Regions from separate parts of the Homo sapiens genome. Here all the other regions are linked to region 1. The links are contacts of gene promoters, found by promoter capture Hi-C in blood cells and fetal thymus (Javierre and others, 2016). All regions are on one chromosome and are shown on one strand. Each heading gives the region's core, a stretch centred on a gene start or on the middle of the fragment in contact. The rest is flanking DNA. Distances are from core to core; before and after follow the strand shown. Region 1 holds the start of FDXACB1 (ferredoxin-fold anticodon binding domain containing 1). Region 2 overlaps DLAT (dihydrolipoamide S-acetyltransferase). Region 3 has its middle 15 kb from the start of SDHD.

What was found. Contacts are between HindIII fragments. The CHiCAGO score rates a contact against its expected background, and 5 or more counts as called.
Region 2: a contact is called between a fragment that was not itself captured here and the fragment with the promoter of FDXACB1 in region 1, in 3 of 17 cell types (erythroblasts, naive B cells and total B cells). The highest score is 6.5, in erythroblasts.
Region 3: a contact is called between a fragment that was not itself captured here and the fragment with the promoter of FDXACB1 in region 1, in 2 of 17 cell types (erythroblasts and naive CD8 T cells). The highest score is 5.6, in erythroblasts.

Annotation. Positions count from the first base shown.
Region 1 is chr11:111,876,696-111,880,729 of GRCh38, forward strand. FDXACB1 (ferredoxin-fold anticodon binding domain containing 1) reads right to left here and starts at 2,470. Exons shown (of 5, transcript NM_138378.3): 1 at 2,266-2,470; 2 at 1,861-2,017; 3 at 113-316. The coding sequence starts at 2,437. It overlaps CFAP68 (cilia and flagella associated protein 68), which reads left to right and starts at 2,846. Exons shown (of 4, transcript NM_022761.3): 1 at 2,846-2,910. The coding sequence starts at 2,866. RefSeq lists enhancers at 2,138-2,757, 2,254-2,723. The HindIII fragment of the contact is 2,066 bases long and covers 1,187-3,252 here.
Region 2 is chr11:112,052,870-112,056,876 of GRCh38, forward strand. The region is part of intron 11 of DLAT (dihydrolipoamide S-acetyltransferase); the gene reads left to right. It also overlaps a transcript of PIH1D2 not described here. Among named protein-coding and RNA genes, the nearest start is that of PIH1D2, 19 kb to the right of the region's middle. The HindIII fragment of the contact is 6,314 bases long and covers 1-4,007 here.
Region 3 is chr11:112,099,880-112,103,585 of GRCh38, forward strand. No RefSeq gene overlaps it. Among named protein-coding and RNA genes, the nearest start is that of SDHD, 15 kb to the left of the region's middle. RefSeq lists a silencer at 1-100. The HindIII fragment of the contact is 1,144 bases long and covers 1,026-2,169 here.

The sequences.
Region 1 (4,034 bases), core at 1,220-3,719:
TAGAGACCGAATCAATTAATTGGCAGGGCCTATTGAGTCTGTCTATGAGATTTTGTTATCATTAGTGAGAGAGATGAAAACGCAGAAGGCTTAAACCTATGCTATTACCTACCTATATCCAGTGCACTTGTACCCTGCCACAGCCTTACAGCTGAATGGATACACGTCGCTTAAAATGAGCCCCCCCAGGGCTGCCATGGCAACCACTTGCCAACTGTTGTGCCATTCTCTCTGGGGCTTATCCGCAGGAGTTCCACCTTGTCCTCTACATAATGCCACGTGGACTTCTCCTTCCTCTGCAAGAACGTCTGCACAGCTAATAGGGAGAAAAGAAACACTAACTAATTATCATAAACAAGCAGAAATTACCACAGGAGTTGGCAACATACACATGGTTTGCCTGTGAAATAATTAAAATCCAATCATACCTATGTGCAAAAATCTATTAGACCTCAAAAAATGCAAAGAAAGTAGCTGGAAGTAAATAGAAGCATAAATTAAATGTTCAACCCACTCACTGATAAGATTGGCTGACCAGGGTCTGCTTTGCATTTGTGTCATTCATGCATATGTCACAGAAAGATCAATATCTGCACAGTTCCTATATATGATTCATTGCTTAGGCTGTTTCTTCCCATTTAGAAAGTTCTTTTCACTGCCCTCCTGAAATTCAAATACTAGTTTAAAATACCACCTCTGTCAAAACTTTATTGACAGCTATGCCCCATCGGACACCTCCAATAGTATCATGTCTTGTGGTATAATCATGTAAAGCACTGTTTTCAGTTCACAATAATTTTATGAGGCTGTTAGTTACTTTTTTTTTTTTTTTTTTTTTTGAGATGGAGTCTTGCTCTGTCGCCCAGGCTGGAGTGCAGTGGCACGATCTCAGCTCACTGCAACCTCCACCTCCCAAGTTCAAGCGATTCTCCTGCCTCAGCCTCCCAAGTACCTGGGACTACAGGCACGTGCCAGCACGGCCAGCTAATTTTTATATTTTTAGTAGAGGCGGGGTTTTGCCACTTTGGCCAGGCTGGTCTCAAACTCCTGACCTCAGGTGATCTGCTCACCTCGGCCTCCCAAACTGCTGGGATTACAGGCATGAGCCACCACGCCTGGCCCAGTTAGTTACTATTAATATCCCTAGTTTACAGTTGAGGAAACGGAAGCATGTAAAGATTAAGTAAGCTTGCTTAAAATAACAACTGTTGGCCGGGCGTGGTGGCTCATGCCTGTAATCCCAGCACTTTAGGAGGCCAAGGCAGGCGGATCACAAGGTCAGGAGATCGACACCATCCTGGCTAACACGGTGAAACCCCATCTCTACTAAAAATACAAAAAATTAGCTGGGCGTGGTGGCGGGCGCCTGTACTCCCAGCTACTTGGGAGGCTGAGGCAGGAGAATGGCGTGAACCCAGTAGGCGGAGCTTGCAGTGAGCCGAGATTGCACCACACCACTGCACTCCAGCCTGGGCGACAGGGCGAGACTCTGTCTCAAAAAATAAAAATAAATAAAAATAAAAAAATAACAACTGTTAAGTGGTGGGCTGGGATTTGAATCCAGGCAGTCTGGCTTCTAAGTGCACGTTCTTAGCCATTAGACTATATGGCTCTCATTATTTTGCACTGTCAAAAATAAATGATCCTCTTTTACACACCCAAGAGTACATTATTTGTACTTTCATTTAGCATTTAGGGTTTATATATCTGTCTTTCCAACTAAACTTGGGGTTCCTTTGGGGCTTTATAGTCTCTTCTAAACATATCATAGTAGCTTGCACGTGTGCCTTATGTTTGGGTACAGTAACTATGTTATGGACATCTTAAACATTTTCCTTGTGAGGGCGCTCCTTTCCTCACCTTTGGAAAAATTTGGCAAGCAGTTCCCTGTTCTTAGCTACGCCAGCTTTGCGTCCACAATGCGGGAAGATGAAATAAATTTGATCAAATTCTCTCTCGTGCAGTTCAAAGACATCTGCCAGCTGGGTGCAGTCCACACCGAAACGTACATCGATACCTGGCAAAGATAGTTTGGGGGCGCAAAATATAGACAGGAGGATGCCTCAAGACATGGAACAGAAAAACTCTTCCTAACTTAAACCGTGCAGACCAGCCCAAGTCTGGGCACAAAGCCGGCTTTATGTGAATATCCGTGGGACGATCAAGAACAATCTCCACGTGGGTTACATCCCCACGCCCCCACCCTTTCCACTTTGGGACGCGCCGGCCGCTGGGCGGGGTTTCGCAGAGGGGCGGGCTCGCTACCTCGCTCGCGCAGGCACTGCAGATTCTCCCAGGCCAGTGGATCCCGAGCCAACTCGGCCGGGCGCTGGAGGCAGGTGGCGGTAAGTTGAGTGCTCTGATCCAGGGTTTCGCTCAGAGCGGCGGCGAAGGAGAAATTCCCCTCCCCAACCAACAGGAGGCGCCGAGGGGCCATGGCCTCCACGGACTCCCGGCTCGCGTTCTCTGTGGCGCTCGTTTTACGTCACTTCCTTCACGGATCTCTCTCCGCCCCGTCTTCTCCCGTCACTAGTTGATGACGCACCCATGGCGCCTGGTTGTCTAGACGAGCCGGTGTACCGACTCCCCGGTGGATGATAACTATGAGTGCAAAAGCAAGACGCGCACTTTCCTGTCACCTCGCCCTTTCACCCCCTCGGGAAGATCAAAGTGTCTTTAGCCCAAGCATGGCCTTGAGCGACTTCATCACACCTGCATGAGGTCACAAGCAGTCACTAGCGCAGGGGGGTGAGGCGAGTTCTGGGTGAAAGAAACGGGGCGGGGCTGAGGCCAAGGAAGAGGTTGGACTGTGTCTCGCATGCTCCTGACGCAGAAGGTTTTGAACCTTTTTTCACCTCGTCTGAAATGGCTGCCTCCCAGTGTCTCTGCTGCTCAAAATTTCTCTTCCAGGTGCTTAAATCTCCTATCTTCTATTCGTTCAAGAAAGAGTATTGAGTGTCTATTGCGTGCCAGGCCACTGTGAGGGTGGTTACGATATGTGGATGAACAAAATGTGGCCTATGATTTCAATGAGCCTGCAGTCTGGTGGGGAATGCACAGAGCAAAACAGGCAACTCTGATATGGCAGGGTGTGTGCTCTGGGAGCACACAGAAGAACGTTACCAAGTTTGGGGGCGAAGAGGGTCAGAGAGTCCTTGGATGAAGTAAACCCGAGTTGAAAGCTAACAGGGTAAAAGTGCATCTTAACTGAGTCAAGAGGCGTGAAGAGGCAGAAGGAACAATATATGCAAAAGCTTGATGGAGAAACAGAATAGTTGAGTTTGGCTGAAACACAATTGGAGGGAGAGTAACAGATGAGACTGAAGAGTTAGGCAGGGGCCAGGTCATAGGGAGCGTTGTAAGCCTTTAAAAAAAATCAACTTTTATTTTACAAATGGGGGTACAGGTACAGGTTTGTTACGTGGATATATTGCACCCAGGTAGGTTGCAGGTTTGCTACATGGGTATATTGCACCTAATAGTTTTTCAACCCACACCACCCGCCCTCCCCACTCTAGTTAGTAGCCTGGAGTGTGTGTTGTTTCCATGTTTAGGTCCATGTTTGCTCAATGTTTAGCTCCCACTTATAAGTGAGAATGTCAGAGGTATTTATACCAGAGCAACTCCGTCTTGAATAGGGGCTAGGTAAATAAGGCTAAGACCTGGGCTGCATTCCCAGTAAGTTAAGGCATTCTTAGTCACAGGATGAGATAGCTCAGCACAAGATACAGGTCATAAAGACCTTGCTGATAAAACGGGTTGCAGTAAAGAAGCCAGCTAAAATCCACCAAAACCGAGATGGTGATGAGAGTGATCTCTGGTCATCCTCATTGCTACACTCCCACCAGCGCCATGACAGTTTACAAATGCCATGGCAAAGTCAGGAAGTTACCGTATATGGTCTAAAAAGTGGAGGTATGAATTAATCCACCCCTTGTTTAGTATATAATCAACAACCATAAAAATGGGCAACCAGCTGCCCTCAGGGTTGCTCTGCATATGGAGTAGCCATTCTTTATTCCTTTACTTTCTTA
Region 2 (4,007 bases), core at 319-2,818, 180 kb after region 1:
CCCACCCTAAGTATCCGTCATGGAGCTTATTATATAAGGGCTCATTATAAATAACAAAACATACTCCTATCACTCAGGAAATTCCGGTTCTAGGGGCTCTATGACAGGAACTGGCAACATGGGGACAAAGACCAAGTATATATTATACCACACTTACTAATATTTATTAATATTTTAGGGCCGGGCTCACACCTGTAATCTCAGCACTTTGAGAGGCCGAGGCAGGTGGATCACTTGAGGTCAGGAGTTCGAGACCAGCCTGGCCAACATGGTGAAACCCCATCTCTACTAAAAATACAAAAATTAGCTGAGCGTGGTGGTGCATGCCTGTAATCTCAGCTACTTGGGAAGCTGAGGCAGGAGAATTGCTTGAACCCAGGAGGTGGAGGTTGCAGTGAACTGAGATTGTGCCATTGCAGTCCAGCCTGGGTGATAAGAGCAAAACTCTGTCTCAAAAAAATATTTTCCTAATAAATATTAAATTTAGGTTAGAATACTGCTCCATGGCTTAGAGTGACTTGTTCTAACCCTTAATCTGAGGTCAGTTCCCAGGAGGCAAACACAACTGTTTGTTTTTTTTTGTTTTTTGTGTTTTGTTTTTGTGACAGAGTCTCTTTCTGTCGCCTAGGCTAGAGTGCAGTGGCGTGATCTTGGCTCACTGCAACCTCCGCCTCCCGAGTTCAAGCAATTTTCCTACCTCAGCCTCCTGAGTAGCTGGGATTACAGGCATGCGCCACCACTCCCAGGTAATTTTTTTGTAGTTTTAGTAGATATGGGGTTTCACCATATTGGCCAGACTGGTCTTGAACTCTTGACCTTGTGAGCCGCCCACCTTGGCCTCCCAAAGTGCTGGGATCACAGGTGTGAGCTACCACGCCCAGCCCTTAAACACAGCTTTTAAACTATTGTTTCTTCTGGTATTTATTTACCTGCAGATTTCCAAATAACATTTTTCTGTTGCCTTTTATGAGTTTTTCATTTATTTTACTTTATTGACTGACTCCCCGTTAAAGAACATTAATATTTAGCTTTAGCTCCAGTCTTGGGACTAGAGAGAAAAAAAAAGGTAGGTTTGTTATGCCCTTCCTACATACACACACATAACACCATCTTCCCAAATTGATTGTAGCACAAATTTGGATTAAATCTATATTTGGGGCCAGGTATGGTGGCTCACACCTGTAATCCCAGCACTTTGGGAGGCCAAGGCAGGTGGATCGCCTGAGGTCAAGCGTTCGAGATCAGCCTGGCCAACATGGTGAAACCCTGTCTCTGCTAAAAATACAAAAAAAAAAAAATAGCTAGGTATGGTGGTGCGCGCCTGTAGTCCCAGCTAATCAGGAGGCTGAGGCAGGAGAATTGCTTGAACCTGGGAGGCGGAGGTTGCAGTGAGCTGGGATTGCACGCGCCACTGCACTCCAGCCTGAGCAACAGAGCAAGACTGCATTTCAAATAATAATAATAATAAATAAATATAAATCTATATTTGGTTAATTTTTTTAGAGTATGTGTGTGTGTCCAGTGTTAATATTTGAATGCCTGTGACAGTGATTGTGTATGACTAAGACATGTATGATACCATGAATGCTAACCTAATTGATTTTAATAATTGCTTTAGGGAAGGCTAGTTTTCTACGTATATGTGAATTCTTTCTGAAACTCCACAAGCGAGGAGAGGAGATTCAGAAACCATTAAACCATTTCTCAATCTGATCAAACCTATTGGGTAAACTCTTTGTTCTAACTTTTCCTTGGTCATTCTTCATTTGGAGAACATCTGGACATCTAATATTCTTTATAAACTGTATAGTTTTCCAGGGCTGCCATTATTAATGACCACAAAGTTGATGGATTAAAACAAATTTATTCTCTCACAGTTCGGGAAACAAGTCTGAAATCAGGGTTTCAGCAGGGGCAATGCGTTCCCTCCAAAGACTATAGAGAAGAATCCTTCCTTGCCTTTTCCAGTTCTGGTGGCTTTAGGCATTTAGTGGTTTGTGATTGCATAACTCCAGTCTCTTCTTCCATCTTTACATGGCCTTCTCCTCTGTGTCTGTATTTTCTCTTCTCTTAAGAGGACAGTTGGTATTGGATTTAGGGCCACTCAGATAATATAGGATGATCTTATCTCAGGATCCTAATTATACCTTCAGAGACCTTTTTCCAAATAAGGTCACATTGATAGGTTCCAGGGATTAGGACAAAGACTTATCTTTTGGAGGGCCACCATTCATCCCACTAAACAGACTTTAGTCTTCCTGTTTTCAGCATTATTCATACTACTGACTCGTGGAGAGTTTTCTGGAGCCTGGCAGAAATGGCTTGCTTAAGGCATTGACAGTCTTCCGTAATTCAGTCAAGGCCTATTTTTTTTTTTTTTTTTTTTTTTTTTGAGATGGAGTCCTGCTCTGTCGCCCAGGCTGGAGTGCAGTGGCGCAATCTCGGCTCACTGCAACCTCCGCCTCGTGGGTTCATGCCGTTCTCCTGCCTCAGCCTCCCGAGTAGCTGGGACTACAGGTGTGCACCACCACGCCCGGCTAATTTTTTTGTATTTTTAGTAGAGATGGGGTTTCACCATGTTAGCCAGGATGGTCTCGATCTCCTGACATTGTGATCTGCCTGCCTTGGCCTCCCAAAGTGCTGGGATTACAGGCGTGAGCCACCGCGCCCGGCCAAGGCCTATATTCAACTATTGCTCCTCTCTAAACCCCTCTTCTTGTGCCATTCTGAGTTAGCCACTGTTACTGAACATACCTTTCAGTTCTCTCCTTCTAGGATGCTGTTTGGGCTTTCCTGTTCCTTGCTTTTAGATGCATTCCTTTTCCGTGCTATGGCCACCGTGATGATCGTCACAGCAGCAAACATTCAAGGAATTTATATTCCTTAAATATAAATACAGGATACTTAAAATCTAGATAAGAGGCAGGAATTTTTTTTTTAATATTCCTTTAATTCTCCTCTGTGCCAGCATATAGACACTTTTTTTTTTTTTTTTTTTTTTTTTTTTTTTTTTTTTTGAGGTGGAGTCTCGCTCTTTTGCCAGGCTGGAGTGCAATGGTGCTATCTCCGCTCATTGCAACCTCCGCCTCCCGGGTTCAAGCGATTCTCCTGCCTCAGCCTCCCGAGTAGCTGGGACTACAGGCACATGCCACCACACCCAGCTAATTTTTGTATTTTTAGTAGAGATGGGATTTCACCATGTTGGCCAGAATGGTCTCAATCTCTTGACTTTGTGATCTGCCTGCCTCGGCCTCCCAAAGTGCTGGGATTACAGCATGAGCCACCGTGCCTGGCCGCATGTAGACACTTTTTAACATTTAATTTGCCATTTTACGTATCATAAAATGTACCTGCTCTAAGTGTACAATTTCTTGATTTTTGTTAAAGGTGCAGAATTACGCAGTCTTTACCACAATCTAATTTTAGAAATTTTCATCACCCCCAAAAGATCACTCATGCTCATTTATAGTAAATTCTTATTTTCACCTTCAGCCCCTGGGCAATTTGTTATAGTGCTTGAGTCTATAGATTTGTATTTTCTAGACCTTTTATAGAAATGGAGTCATAAAATATGTGGTCTTTTGCATCTACTTTCTTTCACTTAACGAAATGTTTTTGAGACTCATCCATGTTGTAGCATGTATCTGTAGTTTATTCTTTTTTATTGCTGTATAGTGTTTAATCGTATCAATATACCTCTTTATCATTCACCAGTTAACATGTTTTCCAGTTTTTTGCTATTATGAATGATGCTACTATGAGTATTTACATACAGTTATTTGTGTGGACATATATTTTTATTTCTCTTCAGTAGATTCCTAGGAGTGGAATACCTGAGTCATAGGGTAAAATTATGTTTAATTTTTAGAGAAACTTCTACATTATTTTTCAAAGTGGTTGCACCATTTTACCTTCCCACCAATAGTGGATAAGTGTTCCAGTTTCTCTATGTCCTCATCAATATTTGTTACCGTGTGGGTGTGAAGTGAGAACCATCTACTTGTGAG
Region 3 (3,706 bases), core at 348-2,847, 220 kb after region 1:
TTTGATTTTTAGTAGAGATGAGGTCTCACTGTGTTGCCCAGGCTGGTCTCAAACTCCTGAGCTCAAGTAATCCACCTGCCTTTGCCTCCCAAAGTGCTTGCATTATATGCTTGCGCCACCATGTCTGGCCGGATTCTAGTTTTAAGAAGGTGGCACATAGGCCAGGAGAAAAGCTTAGGGCTCAAACCAGGGAGTTAGAATGAAGATTCCCCTAAACCAAGAACCATAAAGAGTTTTGCCCTCAGAGAAAGGGTGAATTAGAAAAAATGATATTTGCTCACACCTGTAATCCCAGCACTCTGGGAGGCCGAGGCGGGTGGATCATCTGAGGTTGGGAGTTCGAGACCATCCTGACCAACAGAGAGAAACCCTGTCTCTACTAAAAATACAAAAAAAAAAAAAAAAAAAAGGGCCGGGCGTGGTGGTGGGTGCCTGTAATCCCAGCTACTCGGGAGGCTGAGGCAGGAGAATTGCTTGAACCCGGGAGGCAGAGGTTGCGGTGAGCTGAGATCACACCATTACACTCCACCCTGGGCAACAAGAGTGAAACTCCATCCCCCCCAAAAGAAAAACTGATATTTATCTGAAAAAGCAGAGAGCAGAGCAATGTGTGTATCTTGCCTTGGCTCAGGTTGGAGGAAAGAGTCTCTTCTGAGAATGTGTGGCTAAGAGCCAGTCCTCATGCCAGTTTGGAGTCCGAGTTCAAGTTACCTGCATATCTAAAAAGGTTACATGGGGCAAATTTAACTTTGACCTAGGTTTGTAGGGCATGGTAGTCAGCACAAATCCTCACCAGAGAGAGAAGGGTTACCCCAACACAAGCTTCAAAAATCCCCATAAAGTTCCAGTGAACGTGAACTGTCAGCAAAAATCACAGTACTGGAATGTCCTGAGCAAGAGTCAGCACAAATAAACAGAACCATACCCACAAAGAATTCAGACCCTGGAATTTTCAGATACACATTATAAACATAAGATGAGATATAAGTCTAAATATAAGTCAGCTTTCTGCTCAGGGATCAGAAAGCTTTTGGAGAGAGTGGTATATACTTGATGTTATCGTCTCAATTCATAGAATCTTAAAAAGTAGATGTCTACTTAGGAGAGTTTTCTCCTCTGGACACCTGATAATGAGTGTCAGGGTCAATTCCCAGTGGGGCTGAATGTTCAGTTTCTGAGACCTAAGCACCACTGTGAAGCATGTATCCATGACTATGGGCCTGGAGCTTCAGAACGGTGTCTATGAGATTAAAATACCCAAATGGTCATTTCCAATGTGGTTCTAACTCTAACTTTCATCAGTGACTGTTTCTAAACTAGTCTTCCAGGCCAGGTGCAGTGGCTCATGCCTGTAATCCCAGCACTTTGGGAGGCCGAGGCAGGCGGATCGCCTGAGGTCAGGAATTCGAGACCAGCCTGGCCAACATGGTGAAACCCTGTCTCTACCAAAATATACAAAAATTAGCCGGGTGTGGTGGCATGCGCCTGTATAGTCCTAGCTACTTGGGAGATTGACGCGGGAGAATTGCTTGAACCCAGGAAGTGGAGGTTGCAGTGAGCTGAGATTGCGCCACTGCACTCCAGCTTGGGTGACAGAGTGAGACCCTGTCTCAAACATATAAATATAGGGCCTGGCACAGTGACTCACGCCTGTAATCCCAGCACTTTGGGAGGCTGAGGCAGGTGGATCACCTGAGGTCAGGAGTTTGAGACCAGCCTGGCCAACATGGTGAAACCCCGTCTCTACTAAAAATACAAATATTAGCCTGCCATGGTGGCTTATGCCTGTAGTCCCAGCTACTCAAGAGGCTGAAGCAGGAGAATTGCTTGAACCCGGGAGGCGGAGGCTGCAGTACGCCAAAATCATGTCACTGCACTCCAGCCTGGGCAACAGAGTGAGACTCAGTCTCAATAAATAATAATATAATATAATATAAATATAAATAAAAAACTAGTCTTTCAGTTGTAGATTATGCTGGTGATGATGGGAGACACAATGTATCTATTGGTATTCTTTTGAGAAACAGAGTTTGTAAATTGGGCATAAGACTATGTATATGAGATTCATTTTTGAAAAAATACAAGATTACTACATACCAAGGATGAAATCTGTTACGGGATGTGTCAAGCCCAGCCTCATAGAGTGTTTCTATAATAGTTTAATATGAAAGCTTATGAAGATTTTAAGAAGTAAATTGCAATATCATCAGGCCTATGTATAAAACTTAAAAACGTAAAACTAAGGGAGGCTGGGCGCGGTGGCTCATACCTGTAATCCCATCACTTTGGGAGGCTGAGGCGGGCGTATTATGAGGTCAGGAGTTCGAGACCAGCCTGGCCAATATGGTGAAATCCTGTCTCTACTAAAAATACAAAAATTAGCCGGGTATGGTGGCATGAGCCTATAGTCCCAGCTACTCGAGAGACTGAGGCAGGAGAATTGCTTGAACATGGGAGGTGGAGGTTGCAGTAAGCCGAGATGTGCCACTGCACTCCAGCCTGGGCTACAGAGCAAGACTCTGTCTCAAAAAACAACAACAACAACAAAAAAACCAAAAAAAAAATAATAAGGGAAAGCTGTAGTCTACCAGAAATGTTATAAACTATTATTAAAAAGTTTTTTTTTTTTTTTTTGAGATGGAGTCTTGCTCTTTCACCCAGGCTGGAGTGCAGTGGTGCAATCTCAGCTCACTGGAACCTCTGCCTCTGGGTTCAAGAGATTCTCCTGCCTCAGCCTCCCGAGTAGCTGGGATTACAGGCACCCGCCACCACGCCTGGCTAATTTTTGTATTTTTATTAGAGACAGGGTTTCACCATGTAGGCCAGGCTGGTCTTGAACTCCTTGCCTCAAGTGATCCGCCTGCCTTGGCCTCCCAAAGGATTACAGGCGTGAGCCACTGCACCCAGCCTCAAATGGTCTTTAATGTTGGTGTTTCTTTGTATATTTGTTCTGGATTATTATAATTAAAATGAACAATACATTGATATGATTAATAAATTAATGCATTGATATGATAAATAAAATGAGTAAGCCTCTTAGGTAAGACTTTTTTGACTAGTACTTTATAAAGTTTGAGCCAGTTTGTCCCTGTCAATTGAGCTATTATTATATTATTATTTTTGCAGCATGAAAATTATTGAGCTGGAGGTAGTTTGGGAGAAACCAAGCAGTATGAAACAGTCTTGACAAAACCAATGTCCTTCCTCTTATCCACCCTTCTACCCCCAATGAGGGCAGAGTGTTGTATTTTAATCCCTCTTATATACAGAAATCAGATTGAACAACTATTGTTATAATACCAACGCTGGTAAAGCTAGAAAGGGCTGTTTGTATAAGGTGGCGGCCTTTTTTTTTTTTTTTTTGAGACGGAGTCTTGCTTTGTCACCAGGCTGGAGTGCAGTGGCACGATCTTGGCTCACTGCAATCTCTGCCTCCTGGGTTCAAGCAATTCCCCTGCCTCAGCCTCTTGAGTAGCTGGGATTACAGGCACCCACTACCATGCCCTGCTAATTTTTTGTGTTTTAGTAGAGACGGGGTTTCACTATGTTGGCCAGGATGGTCTCGATCTCCTGACCTCGTGATCCACCCGCCTCAGCTTCCTAAAGTGCTGGGATTATAGGTGTGAGCCACCGTGCCCGGCCAAGGTAGCAGGCTTTAAAGCATGACCTTTAGCATGCACTTTATTCTTAATGACTGAAATTTGCT